Regions from separate parts of the Homo sapiens genome. Here region 1 is linked to region 2. The links are contacts of gene promoters, found by promoter capture Hi-C in blood cells and fetal thymus (Javierre and others, 2016). All regions are on one chromosome and are shown on one strand. The core of a region is centred on a gene start or on the middle of the fragment in contact, and the rest is flanking DNA. Distances in the headings are between cores, read along the strand shown.

Region 1 (3,346 bases), core at 505-3,004, 98 kb before region 2:
CTTGCAAAGGTCTAACAGGGGTATTGATATCAGAGTGGGTTTTAAAAGTGTATTAACTATAATCTTACTTTTAGCCTATTTGATTCTACTTATTTCAGAACTATTAATGACGTTTGTGGAGATATATATATATATATATATACATATATATACAATCTGGACTATCGGACTATAAGCTTAAAATCAGAAGACTCTTTTATATATTTTTATAATGCCTCAAATCTAGCATAGTATCAGGTACAGAGTATATGCCCCGAGTCTAGCAAAGTGTCAGTACAGTTCTGTAAATGTTGATTGCAGAAACTGAAAGACCATCAGCATGATAAACCACTGGAAATACTGACACAGATCTGTTGACAGATCAGTGCAATGGACTGTATTGTGTTCCAATTCATACGTTGAATTCATATGTTGAAGCCCAAAGTTCATATGTTGAAGCCCTAACGCCTTATGTGACTATCTGGAGATAGGGTCTTTAGGAGGTAATTAAGGTTAAATAAGGTCATAAGGGTGGGGCCCTAATCTGATAGTACAGTGGCTTATATGAAGAGGAAGAGAGAGAGAGACCTCTCTCCTTCTCTCCAGGCACGTGCACCTGAAGAGAGGCGATGTGAGCACACAAAGAGAAGGCAGCCATCTGCAAGTGAGGAAGCAGGCTTTCACCAGGAACCCAACTGGCTGGCATCTTGATCTTGGACTTCTCAGCCTCCAAACTGTGAGAAAGTAAATTTCTCTTGTTCAAGTCAACCAGTCTATGGTACTTTGTTATGAATGCCCAATCAGACTAAAACAATCAGAAACCCCATGACAAGTCTAATGCTTTTGATTGGTTTAATGACAATGAATGAAAAAAAGAATAATTACTTTTTTCAAATCATTCTGTAATATAGTCATCATCCAAGAATGAATTATAGCACAATACATGGCATGTATGAATTTAAGAATAAGGACTAACCCAAAGGCTTGAGAATAGAATGTAACAAAGTAGGGAAGTGAGAAAAAAATATTAAAATGTGCCATAAGTCACATTCAACAACAAAAAAAAATATTTTGTTCTATGTGGAAACTTTTACTCAGCCTACATATTATTTGACTCTAAGTTTGATTAGCTGTGATAAAGTTCGAGAAACATTTTAGCCCCATTTTCCTAGAGTTCATCAAAGATTGCTAAAAAATCACATAAGTGTTGCTTTTAAGCTGTAGCCCCAATATGTTTTTCTAAACTGGAATACGGAAACTCATCTAGTGTTTCTTATGAAGCACAGGATCCCACCAAGAAAAAGAAATGTCATTTATTTCTCATATTTGTCTCATATTACATTTTTTATAGAAAGTTGGTTAGAAATTTGCAACCCAAAATTAGCAAGAAAAGTCTATGACAACCTCACCCTCACTATATATTCCTTGAATAAAGGTTGCCTTTATAGAGGAATTAACTGAAAAATTTGAAACATGCTTTACATATTTACCATTATGATGCCTAAAATAAACATACCAGTGTAGATTCAGAAATCTAGATCAAAGACACCTTTTCACATTTTACTCATTTTTTAAGTAGTAAATAGAAGGATGTTCTAAGCAATTAGCCCAGAGATGCTTGACATTTTCACAGCAATCCAATCAACTTAACAGGGACATATTTGCAATGGCTTGGTTCTTCTGAAGGTAACAACTTTTTCTCTTCTTTTCTCTTTTTCTTTTTTTTTTCTGTTCAAAATTCAGAATTACTTCTCTCACTTGCTAAAGTGATACCCTTAATTTCTAGGGCATTCTGACATATTTGTCAGCACCATCTCTCCAACAACCTTAAAAATTGTCACAGGGATAAATGAATTTTTGAAAGCTAAAACTCAAAACTTTATTCTGTCATCCTTTATATACTTTTTTATTGATGATCATGAGCCTTATTAATTGGATTCGTCACCTTTCCCTGTGGCCAAAACTTTGAAAGTAGAATTTTGAGTTTTATTCTTTACTATATCATTTTACTCTAAAATATGTTCAAATAGATTTTTCCACACTGTGTAGTACTGTACTGTGTAAAGAACGTTTGTAACTAGGTCAACATACACTGTTTCTAGGCACCACTAAGGAAATAACTGTGTTATACCCATAATAGAAAATTACCAGAGTAACAGGATTAAAATGACTCATTAGGCCTTTGATTGGGGTGCTCTGTGCTACAGGTAGTGCCAAATCGAGGGCTCTGAAGACTCATGTTGTGAAAGTTTCCTTGAGAGGTCAGAAGTCACTCTTTCAAAATACAAAGACTCTTTCAAAAAACAGATGAGTGAGTGCATTGGATCTTGAGAAAATGGAATATGGCCCTTCTTTCTCTCTGAGAATGAACATGCAGTTTGAGTAGTCTGAATCTTGGAGGAAACAGAAGAAGCTGGTCTACACAACACCTTTCTCTGCATTATCTAGAAAGGTAAAGAATAACCAACCACAGCCCTGCAGGGTGACAGCCACCAGAGTGAGACTGACAGGAGGATATTTGGAAGAAGCACCTGAATCCGAAAAGGAAGAATCCATACATCTTCCATCCCTGTGCCTGAAAAAAGCGACTTTCAGAAAGATCAAGAATTTGGTAGCCTAGAAAAGAGGGATCTCTGCTTTATATACAAATTCTGATACAGTGTCCTACATGAATGTTTTATTCATTCATTCAGTACTTCTTATTGCTGTCTGTGAACTAGATACTAGAAAAGGATAAAATACTAAACAATCATTTATGACTCCTGTCCTCATACAGCTCATATCTAACTAGGACATGTAAATTTGGGCACCATTCTGTATGTCTTTCCTTATCTACACAAAATTTGTCAATGCGCCCTACTTTCTCTATCTTCAAAATAGATCCAGAATTTGGCTGTTTATCACAAAACATCAACTTGGTACACAACACAATAATTTTTGCCTGTATTATTGCAACTACCTCCTACCTGACCTACTGTTTTATAATAAGTTTGTCCAGCTTCAGCATATTCTCCAAAGAACAGACATAGAGATTCCATGAAAACATAATCTCACTCCTCTATTCACAACCTTTCAATGGCTTTCCATCTCACTCAGAATAAAAACTAAGAGTCCTTACCATGGTATACCAGGACCTACATGAGCTGGCCCCATTACTTCTCTGACTACATCTCCTCCTCCCTCCTCCCTTATTCATTTCACCTTAACTAAACTGGGCTCATCACTTGTCACTGTTCTTTGAACAGAGCAGGCAAGCTCCTTGCTCAGAGTATTGCACTTCATACACCCTCTGCCTGTAATGTCCTTTCCTCTGCTATCCAAATGATCTCAGGGAGCAATGGAGTGAACATGTAAAAGCTTAAAATTT
Region 2 (3,371 bases), core at 626-3,125:
TTCTGGGTGTCTCAAACTGGGACCTAAAATGCGGAGGTTTGCACATGACCTGAAATTACTTCCACCACTGGGAGAAGGGAGGATTGAGCAATTTCCTGTTTCTATTAAAGTGCATTATACAAACTTGTCATTCTGGGGATGAAAGGTCACCCTAGAATTGCCTATGGGCAATTTCTTATAGTTCAACCTAGAATGAGAAATGGGAAATTCAGAAAGGCATTGTAGGCATCTGTAACCAGCAGAGGGACGTGCCCCACCTGGGTGGGGACCATGCATCCTTGCCACATGCCCCACTGCACAACTTCCCCAGCTCCTCAACGTCACATGGATCTGGAAAGCAGGGAGACTGGACTACGGAGCCAGCCCTCCAGGGTTGGAACTGAGTTTGAATCTCAGCTTGACTACTTACTAGGATCTAAGGTAACATGTTTAATCTCTCTGTGCTCAGTTTCCTCATCTGGAAATAGAGATTATAATGCTCCTCCCTCATATGATCATAGTGAGGACTGAAAGAGTTAATGCATATAAGGAGTGTTAGGACAGGATCTGGCACATGGTAAATGCTTTATAAGTGTTAGTTGTTATCATCATGATTATTCTTGTTTGAATTATAAGAGAAAAAGCATGTATCTTAAGAATAGAGGGTTTTAAAATGCTCCCAAGTTCCTTAACCAACCTGAGCCATCTGTAAATTAAGTACTATGGGATTTCCAGCTCTGACATGTATTCTGACATGTAACTGGCATCAGTTTAATACAAACTATTCTAAAATGTCTTGTGCCCTTGACAGGGAGGTCCAAGTACTGGATACTTGCAATGCAATCCAGCAGTGGCCCCGTCTTTCTTACAAAAAGGCCCCAGTCACATGTTGATGAGGCTAGATCTATTCCTGTCCTCCTTCTCTTCCCCATATTTCCTTATTCTTCTTCAAGTCTAAACGTTTATTGAACTGAGACCCATGAATGAGTTACTCGACTAGGCTTGTAGGATAAACTTGCCAGGCTTTAGATCTATTTGTTCCTTTCCATCCCCCAAAATCAAATGGCTGCTCCAGGAAAATGTTCCCCTTGTGGCAGGGTCCGGGAGAAAAGAGAGAAGCGACAAAACCAAAAATTAAAACGACCGAAGTCCCATATGCTCCAGGAATATGTCCTGGAGATGGGAGTGGAGGGCAGGGGGAGAATGTTGTTGAGGTCAAAATTTTTGAAGTTTTAAGTCCTATATCTTGACATCCCGAGTATAAATGCGGGTACCAGACACAGTACAAACGTTCTCAAAGCCCAGTTACGTATTCCAAACCAAACGCGGGCTCTTGAAGGGTGATGAGGTAGGGATGAAATCCAGGATCGCCTGAAGACCATTTCTTCCTCTCTTAGGGACCTGCTGGTCTCCAGCTGATTCGGTCCAGGAGGAAAAACCTCCCACTTGCTCCTCTCGGGCTCCCTGCAAGGAGAGAGTAGAGACACTCCTGCCACCCAGTTGCAAGAAGTCGCCACTTCCCCCTCCAGCCGACTGAAAGTTCGGGCGACGTCTGGGCCGTCATTTGAAGGCGTTTCCTTTTCTTTAAGAACAAAGGTTGGAGCCCAAGCCTTGCGGCGCGGTGCAGGAAAGTACACGGCGTGTGTTGAGAGAAAAAAAATACACACACGCAATGACCCACGAGAAAGGGAAAGGGGAAAACACCAACTACCCGGGCGCTGGGCTTTTTCGACTTTTCCTTTAAAAAGAAAAAAGTTTTTCAAGCTGTAGGTTCCAAGAACAGGCAGGAGGGGGGAGAAGGGGGGGGGGGTTGCAGAAAAGGCGCCTGGTCGGTTATGAGTCACAAGTGAGTTATAAAAGGGTCGCACGTTCGCAGGCGCGGGCTTCCTGTGCGCGGCCGAGCCCGGGCCCAGCGCCGCCTGCAGCCTCGGGAAGGGAGCGGATAGCGGAGCCCCGAGCCGCCCGCAGAGCAAGCGCGGGGAACCAAGGAGACGCTCCTGGCACTGCAGGTACGCCGACTTCAGTCTCGCGCTCCCGCCCGCCTTTCCTCTCTTGAACGTGGCAGGGACGCCGGGGGACTTCGGTGCGAGGGTCACCGCCGGGTTAACTGGCGAGGCAAGGCGGGGGCAGCGCGCACGTGGCCGTGGAGCCCGGCCTGGTCCCGCGCGCGCCTGCGGGTGCCCCCTGGGGACTCAGTGGTGTCGCCTCGCCCGGGACCAGAGATTGCGCTGGATGGATTCCCGCGGGCAGAGGCAGGGGGAAGGAGGGGTGTTCGAAACCTAATACTTGAGCTTCTTTGCAAAGTTTCCTTGGATGGTTGGGGACGTACCTGTATAATGGCCCTGGACCAGCTTCCCTGTTGGAGTGGCCAGAGAAGTGTGTAAAACACACTAGAGGGGCAGGGTGGAAAAAGAGACTGCCTTCAAAACTTGTATCTTTTCGATTTCATTTTGAAAAATAACTACAAATCTATTTTAATTTTACAAAGTTAGACTCATAGCATTTTAGATATCAATGTCTTCATTTAACAGAAGTGAAGATGGAGCAAACGCTCAATCAGCGTCTGTATTTATTCGCTCCTGTTGTGCCAGGGTGCGTTTTTGCCGAGCGGTTGCCTTTCTTTACTCACAAAACCCCCTTGATGTCTGTCCTCCACGTTTTACGAGGGAGAGCCGGATCTTTTGAAGTTTGTATCATCTAAAGCAGGTATATTGGGATGACTATGGATAGAATTTAACCTGAAAACACTGAAGTTGACAGCTGACAAAGATATAAGAATCCAAAGTATGTTAAAAATTAAGGAGCTGAGGCCCACAGAAGTGAAGTTACTTTTCCAGCATCACACAGCAGATCTAGGACCCTGTGTGATTTGAAAAGGCCAAGGTATCTAATGATGCTCATAATTTAGTTTACATTTTGTGTCAAATAGATGAGGTCAAGTGGACATTATGTGTATATTCCAAAGCCAAAATTACTGCTTGTAATATCCATTCATCTCTCCGAAGACGTAGTGCCTCTTTTATATGGCTTTAACCTAATGTATAATCGAAGTGAATTAGGGCAGCCAGACTTTTAATCACAGGACTGATCTTTTAAAAACGGGTATATGTAAAGTTAATTGCTTATCTATGTGAACAGTAATATACACTATAAAAAGTTTTCAAGGCAACTTCCTGCCTGTGGTTTAATTTGATAGTCACAATGATAGGAAATTGGCAGGGTTAGGTGGTGGTATCTACATTTTGCCCATGAGGACTTGTGGCTCAGAGAATTTGAGTTTTTTCTAGTAAGGTCACTAGGTCCCTAGTGCACAGCCTGCTTTTAGGTACGGATGTGGGATGGGGGTGTCGGCAGACCACAGGGTTTTGACTCTCAGTTTGGGCTCATTTCCA

The links. Contacts are between HindIII fragments. The CHiCAGO score rates a contact against its expected background, and 5 or more counts as called.
Region 1: a fragment that was not itself captured here is called in contact with the fragment with the promoter of MIR155HG in region 2 in 5 of 17 cell types (activated CD4 T cells, M0 macrophages, M1 macrophages and 2 more); the score reaches 24.5 in activated CD4 T cells.

The regions. Positions count from the first base shown.
Region 1 is chr21:25,462,272-25,465,617 of GRCh38, forward strand. The region is part of intron 8 of LOC105372753 (a long non-coding RNA gene); the gene reads right to left. Among named protein-coding and RNA genes, the nearest start is that of LINC00158, 32 kb to the left of the region's middle. The HindIII fragment of the contact is 3,160 bases long and covers 175-3,334 here.
Region 2 is chr21:25,560,270-25,563,640 of GRCh38, forward strand. MIR155HG (MIR155 host gene) reads left to right here and starts at 1,876. Exons shown (of 3, transcript NR_001458.3): 1 at 1,876-1,988. RefSeq lists an enhancer at 1,411-1,460 and silencers at 1,841-1,930, 1,941-2,220. The HindIII fragment of the contact is 13,141 bases long and covers 1-3,371 here.